Linked DNA regions of Homo sapiens: regions 2, 3, 4, 5 and 6 are each linked to region 1. Evidence: promoter capture Hi-C in 16 types of primary human blood cells and fetal thymus (Javierre and others, 2016). All regions are on one chromosome and are shown on one strand. Each heading gives the region's core, a stretch centred on a gene start or on the middle of the fragment in contact. The rest is flanking DNA. Distances are from core to core; before and after follow the strand shown. Region 1 holds the start of RPS9 (ribosomal protein S9). Region 2 overlaps ZNF524 (zinc finger protein 524). Region 3 holds the start of CCDC106 (coiled-coil domain containing 106). Region 4 holds the start of ZNF628 (zinc finger protein 628). Region 5 overlaps KMT5C (lysine methyltransferase 5C). Region 6 holds the start of ZNF444 (zinc finger protein 444).

Region 1 (3,521 bases), core at 505-3,004:
TTTTAAAACAAGATGGTTAAGATGGTACATTTTCAATTTAATGTGTATTTCACCACAATTAGTAAAGTAAGCCTAAGTCTATGTGATCTGCATGCCCTCCTAAAGTCATCACCTGAAATGCTGTTCCCTGAGACATTTTACAGGTTCTCTCCTGTTCAGGCCTTTGCTAAATACCACCTAAATGTCCTTGACCAGCTTAAAAAAACAAGCACCAGCCTGGACAACATGGTGAAAACCCATCTCCACTAATAATAGAAAATTAGCCAGGCTTGGTGGCCCATGCCTGTGATTCCAGCTACTTAGGAGGCTAAGACAGGAGAATCGCTTGAACTCTGGAGGCGGAGTTTGCAGTGAGCCAAGATTGCGACAACTACACTCCAGCATGGGCAATGGAGCGAGACTCCGTCTCAAAAGTAAAATTAGCCAGGTGTGGTGGCGTGCGCCTGTCTGTAGTCCCAGCTACTTGGGAGGCTAAGATAGGAGAATTGTTTGAACCCAGGAGGCGGGGGTTGCAGTAAGCCGAAATGGCGCCACGGCACTCCAGCCTGGGCAACAGAGCAAGACTCCGTCTCAAAAGACTAAATAAAACGAGAAAACTTAATTAAAAAAACAATAAACCAAGCAAATGTGCAAACCCTGTTATCACCATCACTTAGCCCAGAAATTCCACTTCATAGTCTACTCTCATCCACTAGCAAACAGGCCACATAAACAGAATATAAAGATATAGACGGGTGCCCAGGTGTGCCAGGCCTATCTTTAGCTCTGGTCATTACTAAACTGAAGGTCCAATAACTGGGCAAAAAAGCCACACACCTAAGAAACAGGGCAAAGACTGATCCAGATACACTTTTCCTACTCCACAAGTGCCACTAAAAGTTAGAAGGCTGGTTCCATTTATCCAATGACACAACTCTCATCACTGGAACAGAGGCAACAGAAGGGAGAATGAACCTCACAAGCCCTGCACCCCATCCCTCTGCTGTGGACTCCCATACGCACCTTCGAACAGACGCCGTGGGTCCTTCTCATCAAGCGTCAGCAGTTCCCGGGCGGCCTTGCGGATCTTGGCCAGGGTAAATTTGACCCTCCAGACCTCACGTTTGTTCCGGAGCCCATACTCGCCTGGTGGGGAGAAGGGGGTGGACAAGTGTAGTCCCACGTACTGGCACAACAACTAGACTGGCAGCTTTGGAATCACAAAACCTTCCTAAACCACGAATAGTACCAAATTTAGGGGACGGACTAGATAGAGTACATGGGCACCTTCATCCACGTGCTAACCGCCTCCCGGAAGCCGAACCACTTCCCGGAAGCCTTGGCCACTCACCGATCAGCTTCAGCTCTTGGTCGAGACGAGATTTCTCGAAGGGTCTCCGCGGGGTCACATAAGTTTTGCGACAAACCCAGCTCCGGGCCACTGGCATGTTGGCTCCGCTTCCCCGTCTGCGCCTGCGCGGGAGAGAAGTGTGAGCGTAAGGGATCCAAACGGCGCCTGCGCAGTCCCACAACTACGCCAAAACCTCGCGGAGCCCAGATCCGATCTCGCGAGAATAACCTCCAACGCTCTCATAGTCAGTATCTGCCCCCACAACCGTGCTGCACTCCCGTTCAACCACCCTGCTCTGTTTCCTAACGTCTTTAGCTTACTCATGGAAACTCGGAAGGCCCGGGCCACCATCCAACCCAAACCCTAGAGAAAAAGCACACCACCGCACCTCACCTAAGCAAACCACCCGGTCACTGAGAAAGAGGCGCGGAAGCGCCACGGCTGCGCTCTTATAGTAACGCCGGCGTCTCGTGACGTTTTCACGCACCACGCACGTCAGAGCCAATCAGAAGAGGCGTTGGCTGGCTGAGAAGCAGTGGAGACGTGAGGCTGGGCTAGAGCGGCGTGCTAACCTGGGAGGACTAGGTTTTTTCCGGCCAGGGAGTGGAAACCTGAGAAGTAGGGAGAACCTTCCTTCTCCGCCCCTGGACGGTGGTTTTTCTTTTTCTTTCTGAGACAGGGTCTCGCTCCGTCGCCCAGGCTGGAGTGCAGTGGCGTGATTTCGGCTCACTGAGGCCCCGACCAACCTCTCGGGCTCGAGCGATCCTCCCACCTCCTCCCCAGTAGCTGGGATTACAGGCACACGCCACGACGCCCGGGTAGCATTTTTTTTTTTTAACAGTCGGCGTCTTGCCATGTTGCCCAGGCTGGTCTTGAACTCCCGGCCTCGAGAGAGCCTCCCGCCGTGGCCCCCCCAAAGTGCTGGGATTACAGGCGTGAGCCACCGCGCCCAGCCGAGATTATTTCTGTCACTAACAATAATGTGGCATTCTGGAACGCTATGTGCCACATACTGTTCTAAGAATTTTAAATGTATTTACTCAATCTTCAATACATACTTACAGAGCACTCTCAGAGAAGTTGCCCCCCCACCCATGGTACTATTATTATCAATAGCCACTTAAGGGGTATTAGTACTATTATCAGTAATTTATTTTATTTTTGAGACGGAGTTTTTCGCTCTCGTCACCCAGGCTGGAGTGCAGTGGTGCGATCTCGGCTCACTGCAACCTCCGCTTCCCGGGTTCAATCGATTCTCGTGCCTCAGCCTCCCGAGAAGCTGGGACTACAGGCGCCCACCACCATGCCCGGCTAATTTTTAAATTTTTAGTAGAGACGGGGTTTTGAACTCCTGGTCTCCAACGCCTGACCTCAAGTGATCCACCCGCCTCAGCCTCCCAAAGTGCTAAGATTACAGGTGTGAGCCACCGCGCCTGACCTAGAGTTCTCTTTTTATATATAGTCTGGTTATTGTCTGTCTGTACACCCATCTCTCCACTCCGAATGCGATGGTCTGTCTCCACAGCTCGTGTTCTTCAGTTGTCTTCCCTACGCTGCTGCCTCGGCAGTCACTATCTCCTCAGGAAGCAGTCCCACCCGCCCCTTTCTCTTCCACGGCATCCACACCATCCGGATGCCTGGATTCAAATGCCACGTCACCACTTGCCAGCTGCAGTGCCTTCGACAAGTTTCTCAATCACTCTGTGCCTCAGCGTCCTCCTCTGTAAAACGGCGAATGATGGTAGCGCCTACCTCATAAGCTTGTGAGGATTAAGTGAGAGTCTATCCAGTGTTGAGGAGAGTGGCATAAATAAAGCGCCTAGTGGTAGCTACCATCGTCATTATTGTCATCTGCATTGTACTTCCATATCTTACAAACTACCTTGTTCAGTTTTATGGGTTTTTTGTTTGTTTGTTTTGTTGTTTTGAGACGGGGTTTTGCCATATTGCCCAGGCTGGTCTTGAACTCCTGGGCTCAAGTGATCCACTCGCCTCAGCCTCCCCAAGTGCTGGGATTACAGGTGTAAGCCACCATGCCTGGCCAAATTTTATGCATTTTTGTATCTTGAACACGCGTATATTATTCATCTGGAAGGGGGAAACGTGGAAGGAAAAAACTTCCATAAGTTTTCACTCCCTTCAGGATGAAGTCCAAGCTCCACAAATTCCGGGTGCCTCGTGATTACAGAGA
Region 2 (3,587 bases), core at 584-3,083, 1.4 Mb before region 1:
CCACACTTGACACTGCCCGCTCATATAATCGCTATAATCCCGGCTCCCAACTCAGCCCCATCCCAAACAGCCAAACCCAGACCCATTCAGCCCCTCCTGCTAAGCTTCCACTCTCCCAGGAACTTCCCTTAGATTAAGTACTTCCTTCTCTCCCCATCGCCTCCATAGCAGTCGTGCGCCCCCATCAGCACCTTCTAAGTCCCACCTCCAATACCCTGTTCCCTCAGAGTTTCTCCTTTAAGCCCCGGCCCCCGGCCCTCGGCCCTGAACCACGCCCACCTCAGAGCTGAATTATTATAAGCTCCGCCCCTCACCTTAAAATCCGTTCTCTTGGCCTGGCGTGGTGGCTCACGCCTGTAATCCCAGCACTTTGGGAGGCCAAGGCAGGCGGATTGCTTGAGCACAGGAGTTCAAGACCAGCCTGGGCAATATGGCAAAACCCCGTCTCTACAAAAAAAAAAAATACAAAAATTAGGCTGGACGCGGTGGCTCACGCCTGTAATCCCAGCACTTTGGGAGGCCGAGGCGGGTGGATCACGAGGTCAGGAGGTCAAGACCAGCCTGGCCAAGATGGTGAAACCCCGTCTCTACTAAAATTACAAAAATTAGCCAGGCGTGGTGGCGGGCGCCTGTAATTCCAGCTACTCGGGAGGCTGAGGGAGAGAACTGCTTGAACCCGGGAGGCAGAGGTTGCAGTGAGCCAGATTGCCCCACTGCACTCCAGCCTGGACGACAGCAAGACTCCGTCTCAAAAAAAAAAAATTAGCTAAATATGCTGGCGCCCGTCTGTAGTCTCAGCTACTCCGGAGGCTGAAGCAGGAGGGTCGCTTGAGCCTGGCAGGTCGAGGCTGCAGTGAGCGGTGATAGGGCCACTGCACTCCAGCCTGGATGACAGAGCGAGACCCTGTCTCAAAAAAAAAATTATCCGTCCTCCTTGCCCCACTCTCACGCAGTTCCTCCTGTTCTTCCCCAGCTCCAAGCCCCTACTCTCTATTAGATCAACTCTATCCATCCTCTTTAAACCGCTCTCACTTTCTGCGGACCAACCCCTAAACCTCTTTAAGCCCCACCCAACTCTAACCCTCTTCTAAGCCCCCGCCCCAGGTCCCAGCCTAACTGCCCCGCAATCTCAGCCCCACCCCTCGCTCCTTAGCCCCGCCCCAATCCACACCCCTTATCTCTAAACCTTACCCAGACCGTCCTGCTCATACCTTTGTCTTAATTTTTCCTTCCAAACAGTAGGTCCTCAGGACAAGGAGGTGGGGCAAAGTGGCTGCAGAATTTCTGGGAATTGGCTAGGAGAGAGGCGGTCGGACCTACAGTCAGGTCTGCATGGAAGGTTCAATGTTTTTAGTTAGATTGGATGTGTACTGGGAATACAGCTGACCCTTGAACAACAGGGGTTTGAACTGCAGGTCCATTGAGAGGCGGACGTTTTTTCACCCAAACACCGGTGGAACATACAGTATACGAAGGGCGGATTTTCCTACATCCGCGGGTTCCGCAGGGCCCACTGCTGGACTTGTGTATGCCCAGATCTTGGTATCTGCGAGGTTCGTGGAACCAATTCCCCGCGGACTCCGAGGGACCCATGGACTTTGGGGTCTGATGGAGATGGGGAAGGGGCCAAGGTTCCCCCCAAAACCATTCTTTGGCGAGCACCACGCTCATGAGGCACAGGAAGTGGGGTCCTCTCCAATTCCCCGCACTCCCGACAGGACGGTGTAGCCGAGGAAGAACATTTGAAGGCAGGAGAGGATGGCATCCCGGCACGGAACACACACAGGCAGCCAGCAGGCAGAGATTTATTTCCACAGCCCCTGCCTCCAAGGGTCTGTTAGTCTGGGGGAGGGGGGCTGAAGGCAGCTGGACCCCAAAGTTTAGGTCTCCACCCTCCACCTGCTCCCACAACGGGAAGACCACCGGAAACAAGGGTGTCCCGGCCCCCTGGCTCAGGCCCAGCACCAGCCAAACTCCCTGCTCTAAACCTGGCCCAGGGAGCGATGGCCGGGGGTGTGGGTCAGGCCGGCTCCCCTTTCCCCTCTGTCTCCTCCTCCTCCTCGGCCCCTGCTGTGGCCGGGATGCCCTCCTCGTCCCACGGCGGTTCAGACCCTGGATCTGGTGCACACAGGGGTACCCCCATGGCCTCCGGGTGCTTGCGCTTCGCATGGCGCCGGAGCGTGTTGGCCTCTGTAAAGCGCAGCCGGCAGATGGGGCACTGGTACGGGCGCTCCCCCGAGTGCACGCGGTGGTGGTGCGCCAGCTCGCCCGCCTCGCGGAAGCGGCGGGGGCACAGCGGGCAGCGGAAGGGCCGCAGGCCGGCATGGATGTTGCAGTGCCGCCGCAGGTGGCTGGAGCGCTTGAAGGTCTTGCCGCAAACCTTGCACTGGTGCGGCTTCAGCTCTGAGTGCGAGATGCTGTGGCGCTCCAGGTCGGAGAGGTAGGGGAAGGCCCGCAGGCACACCGGGCAGAAGTGTGGGGCCTTCCTGGGGCCAGAGCCCTCAGGCCCAGCCGCTGAACCTTCAGAGACCGTATAGGGCACACCCTGATCATCGATCAGGAGGAGGTCGCTCCCGCCACTGCTGCCTACTGGGGCTGTCACCCCCTGCACCTGCACCAGTGGGGGCTCCTGCCCTGACTTGGGGGGGCGGCCCCGCTTGCGAGGGAGGGAGGCCTTGAGTGTCCGATTTGAGGAGGTGGCTCCCCCAGGACGACGGCCTCGGCGGCCCCGGGGAACAGGAGGAGATAAGGCCAGAGGTTTCTCTTCCTCCCCGGGCAAAGGCGAAGGCAACGGGTCTGGGCTGGGGGTGTCCATTGAGCAGTGGGGGGCTTGGGTCTGGGCACTGGAGCCAGCTAAGAGGAGAGAGGGGCAGAGTCAGTGCTCACAGGGTCTAGAGCACCCCTGTGTCCCCCAACACCTCGCCCATCCCTCTCTCCAAGTCTCTTGACAAAGGTGTGTTTGACATTCATCCAGATACACAATTTTAGCTATGCTGGTGGGTAAAACAGTGAGATGATCTTGTATCAGCTGATAAACAGGCACTTCCCTGAGCTCCACCAGACATCCCTATGCCTCCCTAACTCTCCTTCTGGATCTAGAAGTTCAAGATCAACATGAGCAACACCCCTCCCCACCTCCCCACAAAAAAAAACCTTCCAGAGAGGATAGAGTCCAACTGAGAGTGCAGACCAGTATTGTGATCCTTGAAACGGAGAGCCCATCAAACTCCAGAGCCATAGAGGCCTCACGAATGCTCTCATCCCTCCCTGCTGACTGGCAGAAGTGGGGAAGGGGTTCCAGAGTGGAAAAAAGGGACTGGTCCCAGGTGATATTTGACCCTGATTCCTGGATGAGGAAACATATCTGCGATGTTAAGAGCCTGGGCCCTGGAGTCAAGACATCATTCGTTCAAATCTTTACTCTCTGCGTGGCCTTGGGCAAGGTGTTCGCTTCTCTAAGCCTTAATCAAGACTTTTGCAAAATGGGACACATAGTTCTACGTACTTGCCCAGACATGCCATGAGCATAATACCCACAAAGTGTTCATACACAGAAGCTTTCAGGACACATTAGCCATTGTTATCAG
Region 3 (3,889 bases), core at 1,307-3,806, 1.4 Mb before region 1:
TGGTGCCAGGGTCCCCACTGGGAAAGTGCCGAAGCCGCAGGGCCAAACTGTCTGTGCAAAGGAGTCAGTCACCCAGGATGGAACCATCAGTGAGAGGAGACAGTGGCAGGCCCAAGGGCAGCCAGAGGTGGTTTGTTCCCGAGCAGAGGGAAAGCCAGATCCCCAGATGCTGGGCTTCCAGTAACAGAGACACCACAAGACCATAGCCCCCTTGCCTAGGATTTTTGGGGAAAGGGTTGAATTCACAAAGAGAGATGTGGGAGCTTTTGAGGGGTCTTCCCAGCCAAGGAGCTAGCAAGGCTGAGATGAGGGTAGGTGGGGTAGAGTGTGGGTTCTCCAGGCCATGGGCTGTCGGGCAAACGGCCTGACCATCCGGGGAAGAGGATGGGGCTGGGGTCCAAAATGTATTAAACAGGGCACAGGGTCCCACCAGTCAAGAGAAGACGCTAGCTGTGAACTGGCTGGGGCTGGGTGCTGCTGTGGGAGCTATCTGGGCTGCTTCTGGCCATGAATTATAGCAGAGCAAGGTATGTGGGTGGGGACTGCCCAGGAATCAGGCAGGGTTTGAGGGACAGCACCTGCTGGGGTCACCACCCAAAAAGGCCCACAAAGGAAGGGACTTAATGTCTTTGATGGGGAAGGAGTGCTCATTAACCAAGGATGGGACAGGGTGGGTGGGAAGATGGCCCCTGGTGTCACAGAGGGGAGGGGGGGACAGGAGGAGGCCGGATGGCTGGACTCTTGGATCTTGGAGAAGACAGGGACGGGAGGAGGAGCAGGGGCCCCCTGAGGAAACCCAAAGAACTAGGGTGGGCCTCTTGGCCAAAGAGATGAAGGAAGGTCCCCCTAGGAGTCAGAAGAGAGGGGCTCTCAGGTGCCAGGGTCCCTGAAGTCACCATGGGCCAAGGAAGCAGATGGCAGGGCACTGGAGGCTGATGGGATTTGGGGAGCTGACGGAGAAGGCAGGAGGACGGGCCCCAGTAGACAGTTCATGGGGATGAGGCCCTGGAATCAAGTGAGGAGGCAGCTGGGCCTGGGGGCCCAAAACAGGCAGGGGACTAGCAGATAGGGCCAACATGGCAGGTCCCACCCAGCCAGCCAAACAGTGGAGCCTTGAGTCTGGGTGAGCGGGTACCCAGTAGCGGGACAGGGAGGCATGTGGATCAGAGCACCCCACACACACCTGCCTCCATCCGAGCAGAAGAGATGAATTTGTCCAGCTGGCACCGCAGGAAGTCCCTCTCTTCCTCCAGGTCCTCGATGCGCTTCTGCAGCCAGGAGTTCCTCTCCAGAGCCATGTGCAGCTGGGTCTTGACGCTGTTCATCAGAGCCAGGGCGGAGGACGCAGCCTCCGGAGGCTCTAGGGACACAGCGAGGGTGGGGGGACCAGGTCACACCCTGGGACTCAGGGCTTGGCTTCCCAGCTGACTCCAGTCCCTCCACACCCCCTCAGCTCACCCTCGAAGTTTCTCCGAGAGGGGCTCAGACTGTAAAAGATCTGTGGGTCTAGGTGGGGTGCCTCATCGAAGGGAATGGAGATCTCGAAGGTCTCATCGTCCTTCACTGGAGAGGAGAGGCCCCGGGTTACCCCAGAGAATTCCCCGGGCCTCTCAGGCCACCCCCCAACCACGGCAGCCTGGAGCCGACCGCACTGGGACCCAGGGTAGGGAAGGGGACCCAGCTTCCTCACTTGTCCGCCTCCGACTGCTCCGGTCATTCATGGCGCGGCTTCCTACGGACCCCAGCAGCCGAGGGCCTCAGGGGCACTGGACAGAAACGGCAGCCACAAATGGAGAGACGCAGATGGACTGGAGGGTCCATCCTGGGGGAGGTGAAGTGAGACAGGAGGGACCTTCTGGCCTGGACCCCTGGTCTGAGGGAGGAGGGAGCCTGGACCCCAGGACTGAGGCAAAACGCGCCTGGGCTTCAAACTCCTGGGCTCCTGGAGTCAGGGGCAGGGGGCCCAGCCGCCTAGGTCCTGGGGGAGAAGTGAGCTGGGGACGTGGGCTCCTGGGTATCGAAGGAAAAGGAAGCTGAAGCCCTAAATTGCTGGGTGCCCCAAGGGGTCGCCTGACCAGGGACACCTAGCCTGAAGGGGAAGGACCCTCTCTCATCGCGGGCCACTGCCAGGCCTAAGGAAGAGGCAGGTGCAGGGGGAAACTGCCCCAACTTCCCAGGGTAGGAGGAGGTCCAGCCCGTGCGCGCTGCCTCCTCTACCTTCGGGGCCCCCACACCCCTCCCCCGCACTCGCGTGGGCGGGCGGACCGTCCCCCGGTGGTGGGGGCTGGGCGCGTGCGCAGTACGGGGAAAGGTCACGCGTGGGGGTGCGCCCCCCCCGCCCCCGCCCTTTGTCCCGCGGGTGGGAGGGGGAGCGGTCGTGGAACGATTCCAGCGGGAACATGCACTAGGGCGGGGGTGCAAACGCGGCCACCATCCCCCGCCCGCGGGTGCCCGGGGTCCGAGGGGCCGAGGCCCCCCGCGCTCACCCACCCGCTCGCGGAATCCGGCTCGGGGACCGACGGCGGCGGCGCCCATGCCCGGCGCCGGGGAGCGTCTGCAAAGTGTCACGGGGAGCCGAGGGAAGCGCCCACCCACCCGCGAACAGGCGGGGCGGCAGGGGAGCGTGTCGTGGAACTGAGCGACGGAACGGGCAGGGACGCGGGGACTCGCCCAGTCGGGCCAGGCTAGCGCCCCTCGTTGAAGAGTCCCCGGGTCCAGGTGAGGCCCGCCGTTTGCGGCAGAAGCAGAGGGTCTGCACTTGCGCGATAGCCCCTTACAGCACTCCCCCGCCCTCCCCGAAGCTCAGGCAGGGAACATCACGAAATTCCCATCCTGGAGAGCTGGCGAGTCTCCGGGGGTCCCCGGATTGGGTGGCGGTGTGCCCAATGGGCCCAGAAGGCAGGAGAGTGTTTGAGACACCGAGAAAGTTGGAGCGAAAGGAGAATCTACTTTTAACGCTCTCTCAGGAACTAGCCAGCGCGGACCCCTCAGAGCTCCCCTACCTCCTACAGCCAGACCCCAAGGTTCTCAGGGATGTGGGGGCCAAAATCGGGGGAGTTACCCCTCTCCCGGAAAATGAGGGCCAGGAACACGCCACCCCCATCCCCATGTTGGTAATTAAGAGCTGGCTTTGGAGCAAAGCTAGATTCCAGTCCTGACTGTTCCTGCTCCTCCCCAGCCTGTTAACTCACCTGCAAAATGGGGAAATTACAAGCCCTTCTAAATTTATTGTGAGGATGCAGTGATGCGACACACAGAAGCTCAGCCCAGCACCTGGCCATCGTCAGGGCTGAAGAGAGGAGCGCTGCTGGTATTATTTGAGGTCAGATGGTGGGGTATGATGGCAGCCTCTGGGAGGCTCTTTCCCACTCTGGGGAGTATGAACGGAAGATTTGTTCTTCCTCCCAAAAAAACAGGTCGGAAGAGCAAATGAGGCCTAGCACAGTGCCTGGCACAAAATAGGCAAGAAAAATGAATGAATAAGCAGATGTTTATTAAGCTTCAGGCTCAGCTCCACCTGCCTCTCCTGTTCACCAGAAGCATCCAAGCTCTGGACTGTGGCCAGCCCTTATAAGAGCAAGGTCTTAACCCGATGGAGGGAGAATCTAAATGTCTGCACCGCCTGCAAAGCTGTGACCATGATCCTCCCCTCCCCACTTTACAGATTAACTGCAGCCTGGTCCAAAAATTCCAGGGGGAGCCATCTGCCCTAGATTGGTCTTTTCCAAACTACAGGTTCATGGGTGGAGAATTCAATAGAATAGGATGAAATCAGCAGTTTAAAAAAATATTTAGCCGGGCGTGGTGGTGCACACCTGTAATCCCAGCTACTCAGGAGGCTGAGGCAGGAGAATCGCTTAAACCGGGGAGGTGGAGGTTGCAGTGAGCC
Region 4 (3,882 bases), core at 1,016-3,515, 1.3 Mb before region 1:
TCCACCCATAGCTTCTCCATCTCTGAAAATGGCAGCCGTCTTCTTCCTCAGGCCAAAGGCTCCTCGCCTCCTCTCTCTCGATTGCCCCTGTCCGCAGATTCCCCTTCCAGGCGGAACATATCCAAGATCTGGCCACTTCTCACAGGCCTCCACCTTGATCTGAGGCACCACTGTCTCTCTCCCAGGCAGCTGCAACAGCCTCCCCACGGATCGCCGTGTTTCCACCCGTGCCCTGCCCACCCGTCTGTTCCCAATACAGCAACTGAAGCGAACCCGTCAACAGGGAGGGCTGGGCATTGCATTCCTGTACTCAGAAATCTGCCACAGTTCTGGTCTTCGAGCCTGCCGACTTCCTGCAGCCTGTCCCCTCCCTGACTTGTCCTACTGCTATCCTCACTGGCCACCTGCCCCTGGTCACTCTGGTCACCCAGGATGGCCAGGCACGCCTGCTCCCACCTCAGGGCACCTGCCTAGAACCACCCCCTTCCTTTCCACCTGTGCCCGCCACTCGCTCTTTCACCTCCGAGTCTTCGCTGAAATCCCCTCTGCAAGAGCTTCCCTGACAGCCCTATTTAAATCTACAATCCCTTCCAACTCCCCATTCCCTTTTCCTGCCTTATTTTTCCCCCGCAGCAATTATCACCTTCTAATGTACCAGGATTCTCAGCCTCAGCAGTGCTGAGATGTGGGGCCAGACCATTCTCTGTTGAGGGCTGTCCTGTGCACTGCAGGGTGTCGAGCAGCAGCCCTGGCCCCCGGCCTCGACCCACTGGACGCCTGACATTGGCCTATGAAGCCCTCCTCTACGCTGTCCACAAAGCTCACTCCTGCACCTCCGAGTCTTAGCCGCAGTGTCGCCCCTGGGGAGCACCGTTGCCCCCAGATGAGAACCGCTACTATATAACCAGTGTGCTTTCTGTTTTATTCTGCCTCCCCATGCTAGAATGTCAACGCCGGGAAAATAGGGGCTTCTGTCTGGTTCACTGTTGTATGCCATCCCAGTGCCTACAATAATGTCTGGCAGAGTGTGTGCGCAGTAAACAAATTTTAAATGAATGAAGGCTAGGCATCCCCGTCGGACAAGCTACAAGAACTTGTGTGTTTTTTTTGTTTTTTTTTGGAGACAGGGTCTCACTCTGTCACCGAGGCTGGAGTGCAGTGGCGCGATCTCGGCTCACTGCAACCTTCGCCTCCCGGCTTCAAGCGATTCTCCTGCCTCAGCCTCCCGAGTAGCTGGGATTACAGGTGCACGCCACCGCGCCCGGCTAATTTTTGTATTTTTAGTAGAGACGGGGTTTCACCATATTGCCTGGGCTGGTCTTGAACTCCTGGCCTCAAGTGATCCGCCCGCCTCGGCCTCCCAAAGTGCTGGGATTACAGGCGTGAGCCACCGCGCCTAGCCAAGAACTTCCTTTTTAAAAGATAAGTGTACCCTTTAATATGTAAGCAGGTTAGATCGCGCCACTGCACTCCAGCCTGGGCAACGGAGCAAGACTCCGTCTCCAGAAAAAAAAAAAAAAAAAAAAAACAAACCTACTGATGCTAAGAAGCTGCACGTGCCTTTGAGAAGCCCCAGCATCTCCTTAAAAGAGATATCCGTGCCCTGAAAGAGCGGGGTCCCATTTAACAAGAAGACATCCCCTTTAAAAGGCCGCGCCACACCCGTTCAGCAGGCTGGACCTCCCCTTTAAGGGGATGCTGCCACTGGAGCCCCATCTCCACTTTTGTTGAGCTAAACCAGGGATCGCTTTGAAGCAACCAGGACTCAGGAGTTTTTGCTTCAATGTCTGGGAAACGGTCACTGGCCTTTAATGAGATAACCGCCTTTTAGGGGAAAAACATTGTTTTAAGTCAGAAAGCTTCTGTAAAAATGCAAAGCCTGACCCGCCCTCTCAATGTGGCCCCTTGCCCTTTAAGAGGGCGGACCCGGCCTAGCTGGCAAATGTCGGAGGTGAAATAGTGACTCCCCTTTAAGGTACCCCTTCCGGTTTCACGCCCCCCCCCCCGCCCCACCCCCTGCAACTTCTCCGCCCTCCGGTCCCTCCCCCCACCCCCACCCCCTCCGGTCTCTCACCTGCGGCCCCAATCGGGGGAACGAGGGTGGCAGCCCCAGGACCTTCCCGCGGGGGTCGACGGGAAGGTGGGGCCCCGGCAGCGGCGGTGCAGCTGTGGGGACCGGGGAGGGGGGGCAGGGGCGCACTCCCTCCCAACGGCCCCCGGCGCGAGGCACCCAACCTTTATCGGCGGCCTCTCGCGCACACAAACCCCGACGTCGCCGTCGGTGCGTCACAACGCACGTACTCCGAGTTCCCGCCCCCGGACCCTCCCATTGGCTGTGCGAGGCCTCGTCGAGCTCGGGCGCAGGCGGTGCGCGGCATCCTGGGAGTTGTAGTTCTCCCAGTTGTGGTCGCGGACTCCAGTTGTCAGGTCTTGGGGGCCGAGGCCCCGGTGAGCCCAAGGCCAGGGACGGCCAGCTCGAGACGCGGGGTCGCAAGTTCCCCTTATTAATCCCGATTCCCTCTCATCTGCAAAAAAATCCTTCCATGCACCACGGTTGTACAAAAATCCCTCCCGTGAAGCGGGCCCCGCCCCCAGGGTGTAATCGCTCCAGCGGGAAAACGAGGCCTGGAGCGCTTCCAGTCCCTCGGTAGAGCCACGTGCTCAGGATTTTCGGGCGTGTGCTTCGTGCACGCTCATCCAGACGCTGCAGAAACCTGGTTCCTGCTGGGCAAAGGTCTGTTCTGGGAGGCTGGAATCCACAGACTCCTTGTGGGGCCTAGGGTTTTAGTGGGAGACCGAGCTGCTCCAAAGCCCCTCTCCACGCTCAACCCCCGCCCAACCCAGCGTTCCAGCCACACTGGCTTTTCTGAGGGTCATTAAACGCAGTTTCTCAACCAGAGCACTAGTGCCATTTGGGATGGATTCATTGCAGCGGGGACTGTCCTACACACTCTAGGGCCCCCACTCACTAGATGCAGGTAGCATCCCCAGCCCCGCTCCACACACCCCGTAGGAGAGCTCAGAATATCTCCAGATAGAGATTTTCGCGGTGGCTCACACCTGTAATCCCAGCACTTTGGGAGGCTGAGGCAGGCAGATCACTTGAGGTCAAGAGTTCAAGACCAGCCTGGCCAACATGGTGAAACCCCGTCTCTACTAAAAATACAAAAATTAGCCGGGCATGGTGGCAGGCACCTGTAACCCCAGCTACTCAGGAGGCTGAGGCAAGAGGATCGCTTGAGCCCAGGAGTCGGAGGTTGCAGTGAGCCAAGATCGTGCCACTGCACTCCAGCCAGGGTGACAGAGTGAGACTCTGTGTTAAAAAAAAAAAACAACAACAACAAAAAGAATATCTCCAGACATTGCCACATGTTCACTAGTTGAGAGCCACTGCTCAAAGGCAGTACCCTCAGCTTGAAGACCATTCTGCATGCTGTTTCTCAGGCCAGAAGGCCCTTCTACCCTTAACCCATCCCTGCCCAGCAAGATCCCACTGGAAAGCCTCCTGTGCTAGGTGGTGTCCCTCTTACATGCTCAGCGACATTTATCTATGTCCCATGACAGCGAGGACCTTTCGTGTCTTTGCTGCCCAGGTATTCCAAACAACCAGCATGGGCCCTGATGGAGAAGCAGACGGTACTTGTTTGTTGAATGAGTGGATTTTTCCAGCCTCCCACACCGTTTCCCAAGTCCACAAGCAGGCTGGAACTCAGGGCTGATCTGCGGTGGTGTGGACCCACCCCTACCTTACAGGGTCTTGGTGCTGATGTCTCCGTGCATTCGTGCGTGTAAAAACCCTTGGCATCCAGCTCAGCCCAACATTCCTTTCACGTCAGCATTAACCACACAAAGCGGCTGCCATGCAGGGTGGAGACGTGGATG
Region 5 (3,643 bases), core at 289-2,788, 1.1 Mb before region 1:
GAAAAACCAAAGGCCAGGGGTGGCATCGCCAGGACCCCAACTCAGTTCTGACTCTGGAGCCAAAAATCTGGATCCCTTTGTCATGCCTCCCGGGGTGCCCCATCGAGGTCTGTGCTCCAGAGGGTGCACCCTCAATGCCGCCCTGGAGCCAACCCTCCTGATTCCTTCTGCTTCCGGGCTACAGGACAACCAGCGGCCTCTCCTGGGCATGTCTGGACAGCATCCTGAGTCCTGGCCCCTGGGGCTCTCTGGCCTCCCTGCTCCTGCCACCACAGCTGCCTGCGTTGTTCCCTGCAAGGCCGGGGGCTCCCACCACAGGGCCCTGCCTCCCTGCCACACTCCCTGCCCAAATTGGCACAGCTCCCAGCTCGGTTTTCAGAGAAGAAAGATGGCCAGCAGCTGGCAACCAGGGTTCCAGTGCAACTGCACAAACAGCCGGGCAACGCTGGCCAAACTGGAACCCCTTCCTCCTTTCTGGTAGCCTTGTGAGCAAATACCCACTCTGCCCCTTCCAGGACCCGTGGGAAGCCATGGAGACATGGGGCAGCATTTGGCTCTTTTTTTTTTTTTTTTTTGAGACAGAGTCTCGCTCTGTGGCCCAGGCTGGAGTGCAGTGGCGCGATCTCGGCTCACCGCAAGCTCCGCCTCCCGGGTTCACACCATTCTCCTGCCTCAGCCTCCCAAGTAGCTGAGACTACAGGCGCCCGCCACCACGCCCGACTAATTTTTTGTGTTTTTAGTAGAGATGGGGTTTCACCGTGGTCTCCATCTCCTGACCTCGTGATCTGCCCACCTCGGCCTCCCAAAGTGCTGGGATTACAGGCATGAGCCACCGCGCCCGGCCGGTGTTTGGCTCTTTACTGACCAAAAACCCTTTCCCCAGGCCACAGGCACCCTTTCTTCCTGCGTGCCCTCTCCTCCCGAGTCCCAAGGCCTTACCTTGCAGTTGGGTTTGCAGTCTGGAGCCAGTTGGGGCAGGAGAGAGAAGAGAGGTAGATGAGCTCGGCAGCTCAGTCGCAGAACCCTCCCACTACACCCCTCCAGCCCTGCCTGGCTCTATCCCGTCCTGCCCATCCACCTGCCTGACCCTCACCATGGTTGATGAAGGCGGCTGGGCCCAGCCACAGCTGAGCACTCCGCTTGCGGGTTGAGTACATGATGCTGAAGTCATTCTCACCGGCCCTCAGCAGCCCCTCATCTGCCTCCCGCAGCTCTGCAATGCAGCCCACCAGCAGCTCCAGCTTCTCATTCTTTTTCCTGCCAAGAGGCCAGGGGGCAGGGCTGTGGGCGATGCCTGGCCTCCTGCAGGTGTTCAGGGGACTCGGGCCTCCGGCACAGAGGCACCCAGGAAGGAGGGACTCCTGGGCGCTGGTGCTGGCTATTGGCGATCCATCTTCCAGATCTCCCTCTTCCCCTCCTGCCTGGGTGGGCTTCCCTGCTCCAGCCCACAGCCCCACAGGACCCTTCTACTGAAAGCCTTCAGGGCAGCACGCACACAGCAGATACAGCCCCCATTCTCTCCCCTCGCTCTCATAGCACCTCCTGCCCCCAAATCCCTCCTGCCTGGACTACCCCCTACTCGCCCCACCAGACCCTCAGGCGGGTGCTTCCCCTGTCAGTGTGAGCCTCGCCCTGGGAGCACTTGCTCATTCCTCACAGCTCCCCTGCAGCATGTACCAGCTGGGACCAGTGACTGCATGTTGACTTGTCTGCCCCCCACCTCCTCACCAGACTGTGAACCCCGCAGGGGCAGGGGCAGGGGCTCCTCATTGCACTCAGGGGTGTTTAACATGTGGTGGGGGCTCAGGTCACAAGGAGGTAAGGACAGCACGGCCCTGACCAGAAGCCTAGTTCTTTCCTGGAAGCCCCAGGAACCCTGGGGTCACATCCGGGGTCTCCTGCTCCAGCGGCACCACGGTAGCCACAAAGGTCTTCCGGGATTAGCCCCACCACCTTCCTAGGATGCCCGGAGGACCAGGCCCCTCGCTTTTCCCCGGTTGGCCAGTCCATGAACAGAGGGTCTCTCTTGTCCCCTCTGAGCTCTGTCTCCTCCAAGGATACCTGCAGGGAGTCCTGCCCTCTTACCAAGCACGAGTGGACACGATCTTGGCCCCGTTGGTCTCCATGGAGTAGCGCGTGCAGGGCAGGATGGTAAAGCCACTTTCCGGCAGGAAGGCACGGAGGTAGCGATAGACCTGGTGAGGGTGAGGGTGGGGGTGAGGAGGCGGGGCAGGGGCATCTTTGGCCCTCTCTCTCCAGGACTCTAGGCCTGCCATGCCACTGACTCACTGTGTGGTCTTGGGGGCCTCATGTTCCCTCTCGGGGCCTCAGTTTCCTCATCCGTCAAATGAAGAGGTTGGACTACATCTCAGAGGGCCCCCCCAACTCTCCTCTCCTAGGATTCTCTGAGCCTTGCCTCAGATGGTCCCAAGGGCTAGGAAGTCAGGGGGCCCCAGGGGCTGCGCTGAGGGACTCTAGAGCGTCTGCCAGGCGGGACCAGGCCCGGTGAGCGGGGAGGACACGCGGTGAGGGCGGGGGAGGGGAGGGCGCCCTCACGTGGGTCTTGAGGGCAGCCTCCTGCCGCGGGCCCCGGCTCTGGAAGTAGCGGGCCGTCCAGCCTCCCAGCGTCAGGGCCCGGTACGCAGCCTCCAGGTCCCGCTGCCTCAGGAAAGTTTCCAGCGCTGAGCGCAGGTGCTGCTGTCGCCGCAGGGGGGGCACAGGGCTGGGGGAGAGGGCATGCCTGGGTCCCAGGGCCTTCCCGGGCCCCGGCCCCAACCCCCACTTGGAGCTGAGGGGAGGACCAGGCTAAGGAGAGGGCCGAGGGGCGGCAGCGGTGCAAGGGGAGGGGTCCTGACCCCTCGGGCCCACCCTCGCCCCCAGGCCACCTCACCTGACGTTCATCTTATGGGTGCGGAAACCGAGGTAGGGGTCCAGGACGAGGCTGGTGGCCAGGTCGTCGTTCTCGCACAGTTCTCGTGCTGTCACTCTGTCGGGCCCCATGGTGCCCTGCGGACCATGCTGCCTCTGGCAGAGAGCAGGAGCAGGTGAGGGCAAGGCAGGCGCGGGGAGCCTGGCTTGGTGCTGACTCCACTCCCACGCTACTCAGAAGCCATGGGGGACGCTGGTGAGCCCCACGATCTCATCTGCAAAATGGGGAGAAAAGCAGTGCTGACTTCACCAGGCCGCTGGCGAAGATGGAATGCAACAAGTACTTCTGAGAGTAGGGAAAGCCCAGAGCCATGTCAGCCATCGCCTTAGCTCTTGCTCTTGCTCCGCAGCGCAGACACAGATCCCCCCTAAACACACAACCCCCACATGCACACCCATGCACACTCAGACTGACACACGCAGATGCCCCTGCCCATATGTACAGAGACCCCCTACACACACACATCTCTTTGGGCCCAGAGAAGGCTGACTGATTGGCAGCCGGGATCACCCTAAAGGCTTAGCACCGTGGGGAGCCGCTTCACCTCTAGCCCTCAAGGAGGAAAAGTCAAAGCTTCCCGCCAGCCCGAGGTCCCGCCCTCCACCCCCACCTCGACCCAGCCTCGGTCTCCGCCCCCTGCCTCCCCGGCAGCCTTCGGGAGTGGTCAGGAGGCTCCGGGTGAAGCCCCAGGCAGCCTGGAGGCGGGTGACGGGA
Region 6 (3,706 bases), core at 852-3,351, 1.9 Mb before region 1:
GGGACTAAGGAGGAATTTCCGCCAGAGAGCAATGCCACAGGCCATCAAGCTGACCCTGTTTGCAATCTCAGAGGTGATCACAGGTCACTACACCCTGGGCTGTCCAGAAAGTGAGCTCTCTGGGGCAGTGACCAAGTCCAGCTCTTCACTGGGTCGGTGGGGCCATCCAGCACAAGGCCTGCTCCCAAGAAAGCACATGCTGTTAAGTAAGGGCCTTCCACCATGTCAATCCACCCTACCATCCAATGAGCGCCCTGTGCTATGTGCATTCAACAGCTGTAACCCTGCTGTCTAGCTGTCTGTGTCCGCAAAGCACAGTCCAGTCCAGAGCCAGGCACCCTGGATGCCTTGAAGACAGCCACTGAGTGGCTAGTGTCTTATACTGCCCCACCCAACCTTCCCAACAGACCTGTGAGCTGGGGAGATGGGTCCCCTCTTACCATAGGGAGATGCTCAGAGAGTGAAGGAGCCACAAATGGGACCCAGATGTGACTCCAGAGTCCACACCAGTTCCACCTAGTACCCCGGCACCAGCACCCACATATGCTGGGTTAATATCATGGCTAAGAGGCTGTGGAGTCTGGCTGCCTGGCTTCAACTTCCAGCTCTGCCACTCATCAGCAGTGTGACTGTGGACGTGTGACTTACCCCCTCTGTGCTTCATTTCTCCACCTGAGACACAGGACTAACAAGAGCTCCTTCCTCTCAAGAGGCTGCTGGGAGCAGGAGTTAGAAGCAGCCTCCAAAGGCTAAGTGCTCGACAAAGACCGGTTTGTCTACTCTAGGTTCCCAACCTCGACATTAATGGCACTTGTGTCGTGGCGGGCTATCCTGTGCAACATACGATGTCTACCAGCATCTCTGCCTCTTTTCATGAGATGCCAGTAGCACTTCCCAAGTTGGAAAAACCAAAAAAAAAGTCTCCAGACATTGCCACATGTCCCCTGGGGGACAAAACCACTCCTGGTTGAGAGCCGCTGGCCCACTGGACAAATATTTACCTACGGCACAAAGGCTCTGGGGCAAATTCCAGCTCTGCCTCCTACCAGCTCTGTGTCCTTGGACGAGGTACAAGGCACCTTTTGTAATACCCTGTATCTCCATTTCGTTGACTGTAAAGTGATAGAAGGAGAACAAAAATGCTGAGAACCACACCTGGCTAGTAAGTGTCCAGTCAGACTTAGGGTTACTTTGTCGAAGTTTCCCTGCGAGGTGCCCAGGGGACACTGCTATGAACACGCACGCAGATTAAAATACTAAGTATACATTGGAATAGGCGTTAAAATCGGATATAGAGGAGGGTGACTCCATCCTGACTGGGGTAGAGGTGGCGGGGGTCAACTTCATTTGACAATAAACAGAGTTTCTAAGCACTTTACACATATTACCGAAGGTAATAATGCCTTGCAACAAGCTAAAAAGGCAGATGCTCCGCACTGAGAAAGCAGCAAAACAGAGCAACGATTCTTATCTTCAGGAATCTCACAACTCTGTAAAAGTTGCACTTGTAGAAGCAGCGCGCAAAACGAGCCACCTGCGCCGTATCTACGTTACAACAATAACCATCGTCCCCGGAAGCCCCTTCCCGCAAACCTTTCCGAAGGGGTCCGGTCCCGGCGCCCCCAGACTCCTTTGTAGGGTCCAGCTTCCCACTCAGCTTTCATCTCACAGCCCACCCTCTGCTAGGGTCCCCTTCCCCTCCCCCACCTGTCCCTCCCCCGTCCCGCCCCTCCCCCTCCCCCAGGCGCCCCTCCCCCGTCCTCTCCCTCAGCATTTCTCTCCCGCGTTCAGGACCTCGAGGATCCACGACCCCCTCCCACTATCCACCCCTCCCCCTCTCCAAGTCCCTCCCCCTCTAGTTCCCTCTCCCAGCCCCTTCCCCATCACTCAGCCCCCTTCTCCTCCCCTCCCCGCAAGTCTCCCATCTTTCCCTCCTGAGGCCCCCGGCGCCCCTCTTCCCATCCAACCTCTGGTCCCTCCCTCGTCCAACCGCCCCCACCCAATCCCTCCCTCCTTCCCCCCTCGCTCACCTCACTCTCTCAGGCGAGGCCCCCCAAGCCCCCTCACCTCCCCGCACATGCGCACAAAGCTCGCCGGGACTCCATGCCCCAGCAGGCTTTGCGCCAAACTCCCCCGTCCCCCTCCCCCAATCCCATACTCCGAGCCGCTCGTTCAGCCCAACAACTCCCCATGAAGCCCCGGCCTCACCCCGAACTACAACTCCCAGGAAGCATCGCGGCAAAGGCGGCTGCCAATTGGCCCTCGCCTGGGGACCGCCTTACTCCTGTTTGTCACCGCGTGGCGTCTTCGCCAACACTGGAACTACATTTCCCAAGATACGCGAAAGCGTCGTCTGCAGCCTATTTGGCCTTGACGGCGCAAATGTCGCGGGCTGTCTGAGCGCGACAGGCTTTGGACTACATTTCCCAGAATGCACGAGGAGGCTTCCCAGTGGTCTGCGCGCGGGCCCTGGACATGCGCAGAAGTGCCGGGAAAAAAAGAGGGAGGAGGAGGAGGAGCCATGGCGGCGTTGTTGTGGAGATCAGGGGAGGCCGGGCACCGCCGGGCATTTGGGAGGTGGGGCCTCCGGAGCTCTAGAAGCTGGCAAGCGAAGAGGAGGAGGAGGAGGAGACCAGGCTAGAGTTCTGCGCCAATCAGGAGTGCAGGCTACGTCTCCTTGACTACGGATCGCATTTTTTTTTGTCCTCCCTCTCCACCCGGGCAGAACTTAAGGGCCGATGTCGGTGCCAGGAATCAGGACGTGAGCAGGCTGCCCTCCTGTTCCGGGGTGGGCAGTGGCTCAGGAGGGGGCCAGCGCGGGGGCCTCGGTTTGGCTCTTCCTGTGTGTGAACCTGGACAGGACACCGCCCTCTCTTTAGCCTCAGTTTCCCCTGGGGTGAATTGGGGGACAGCGCTACCTGCCACGCGTCCTCGCTGTGCCCCTATTGGACAGACTACTGCCCCGTCCTGAGGCCTCAGTTTCTGCATCTCAGAACTGTGAAGAAGCATATTTGGATTTTAGAGCAGACAGACATCCTAAGAGATCAGCTGAAGTTTTTATCTAGACAGTTCCAGACCTGATTATGGCTCATACAAGCCCTACCCCAGCCCGCAGCGTATTTCCTCCTCCGTACAACAAGGATAAGAGAATCCCCCTCCCATCCTCCACCTCCCCGGCTGATCTGAAGACTCCGCGCCATAAAAACGAAGACAGTGGCTTACCCATAACAAGCATTCATTACATGGAAGTTGTTCGTCTTATATTCATAAATGAACAACTTTCCCCAGGTTTCACAAGCGATGAGTGGCTGACTCAGAACTTTGTGACCAGTTTGCCCACGGTGGCCTAATCTGCCCTGGCCCACCTGTCTACCACTGTCTTCTCCTCGTGTTTAATGAGTTCCAGTCATGCCTCCTTTCTGCTCCTAGAGCACGCTGATCTTCTTCCCACTCATATCCGATGGCCTACTTGACATCTCCTCTTGGATTTCTTAATAGGCATCTCAAACCTAAGGTGGGCAGTAGATAATTTTTCACTCTCTCCCCCACCTTGCGAAGAAATTTGTTCCTTCCCATTACTCCACCATCTTAGAAAGCAAGTCCATCTTCACCCAAATGTTGAGGCCAAAAATAGAAAAGCAGCCCTTGATTCTTTTTTCTTTTTTTTTTTTTGGTTTTTTGTTTTGTTTTGTTTTGTTTTTTGATA

What was found. The method cuts DNA at HindIII sites, captures the fragments that hold promoters and counts their contacts. A CHiCAGO score of 5 or more calls a contact.
Region 2: a contact is called between a fragment that was not itself captured here and the fragment with the promoter of RPS9 in region 1, in 1 of 17 cell types (naive CD8 T cells). The highest score is 8.0, in naive CD8 T cells.
Region 3: the fragment with the promoter of CCDC106 here is called in contact with the fragment with the promoter of RPS9 in region 1 in 3 of 17 cell types (total CD8 T cells, naive CD8 T cells and total CD4 T cells); the score reaches 6.1 in total CD8 T cells.
Region 4: the fragment with the promoter of ZNF628 here is called in contact with the fragment with the promoter of RPS9 in region 1 in 2 of 17 cell types (naive CD8 T cells and total CD8 T cells); the score reaches 5.6 in naive CD8 T cells.
Region 5: a fragment that was not itself captured here is called in contact with the fragment with the promoter of RPS9 in region 1 in 1 of 17 cell types (erythroblasts); the score reaches 5.2 in erythroblasts.
Region 6: a contact is called between the fragment with the promoter of ZNF444 here and the fragment with the promoter of RPS9 in region 1, in 1 of 17 cell types (total CD8 T cells). The highest score is 5.6, in total CD8 T cells.

The regions. Positions count from the first base shown.
Region 1 is chr19:54,199,091-54,202,611 of GRCh38, reverse strand. RPS9 (ribosomal protein S9) reads right to left here and starts at 1,754. Exons shown (of 5, transcript NM_001013.4): 1 at 1,724-1,754; 2 at 1,331-1,452; 3 at 1,003-1,125. The coding sequence starts at 1,427. RefSeq lists a silencer at 1,441-1,934 and an enhancer at 1,697-2,366. The HindIII fragment of the contact is 3,345 bases long and covers 1-3,092 here.
Region 2 is chr19:55,601,341-55,604,927 of GRCh38, reverse strand. It overlaps ZNF524 (zinc finger protein 524), which reads right to left. Exons shown (of 2, transcript NM_153219.4): 2 at 1,790-2,853. The coding sequence starts at 2,815. The coding sequence ends at 2,021. Among named protein-coding and RNA genes, the nearest start is that of ZNF865, 2.5 kb to the left of the region's middle. RefSeq lists enhancers at 1-107, 108-659, 1,763-2,313. The HindIII fragment of the contact is 3,453 bases long and covers 107-3,559 here.
Region 3 is chr19:55,646,879-55,650,767 of GRCh38, reverse strand. It overlaps CCDC106 (coiled-coil domain containing 106), which reads right to left and starts at 2,556. Exons shown (of 5, transcript NM_001370470.1): 1 at 1,691-2,556; 2 at 1,459-1,563; 3 at 1,184-1,360. The coding sequence starts at 1,721. RefSeq lists an enhancer at 1,091-1,140 and silencers at 2,201-2,330, 2,361-2,480. The HindIII fragment of the contact is 17,145 bases long and covers 1-3,501 here.
Region 4 is chr19:55,475,000-55,478,881 of GRCh38, reverse strand. ZNF628 (zinc finger protein 628) reads right to left here and starts at 2,265. Exons shown (of 3, transcript NM_033113.3): 1 at 2,075-2,265. RefSeq lists silencers at 1,544-1,867, 2,000-2,199. The HindIII fragment of the contact is 2,239 bases long and covers 1,862-3,882 here.
Region 5 is chr19:55,341,294-55,344,936 of GRCh38, reverse strand. KMT5C (lysine methyltransferase 5C) reads right to left here. Exons shown (of 9, transcript NM_032701.4): 2 at 2,891-3,143; 3 at 2,557-2,722; 4 at 2,086-2,195; 5 at 1,094-1,257; 6 at 940-959. The coding sequence starts at 3,000. Among named protein-coding and RNA genes, the nearest start is that of KMT5C, 3.2 kb to the right of the region's middle. RefSeq lists enhancers at 1-296, 297-1,101 and a silencer at 3,485-3,643. The HindIII fragment of the contact is 3,932 bases long and covers 1-3,504 here.
Region 6 is chr19:56,139,682-56,143,387 of GRCh38, reverse strand. It overlaps ZNF444 (zinc finger protein 444), which reads right to left and starts at 2,101. Exons shown (of 5, transcript NM_018337.4): 1 at 2,031-2,101. RefSeq lists enhancers at 2,139-2,278, 2,309-2,638. The HindIII fragment of the contact is 17,292 bases long and covers 1-3,706 here.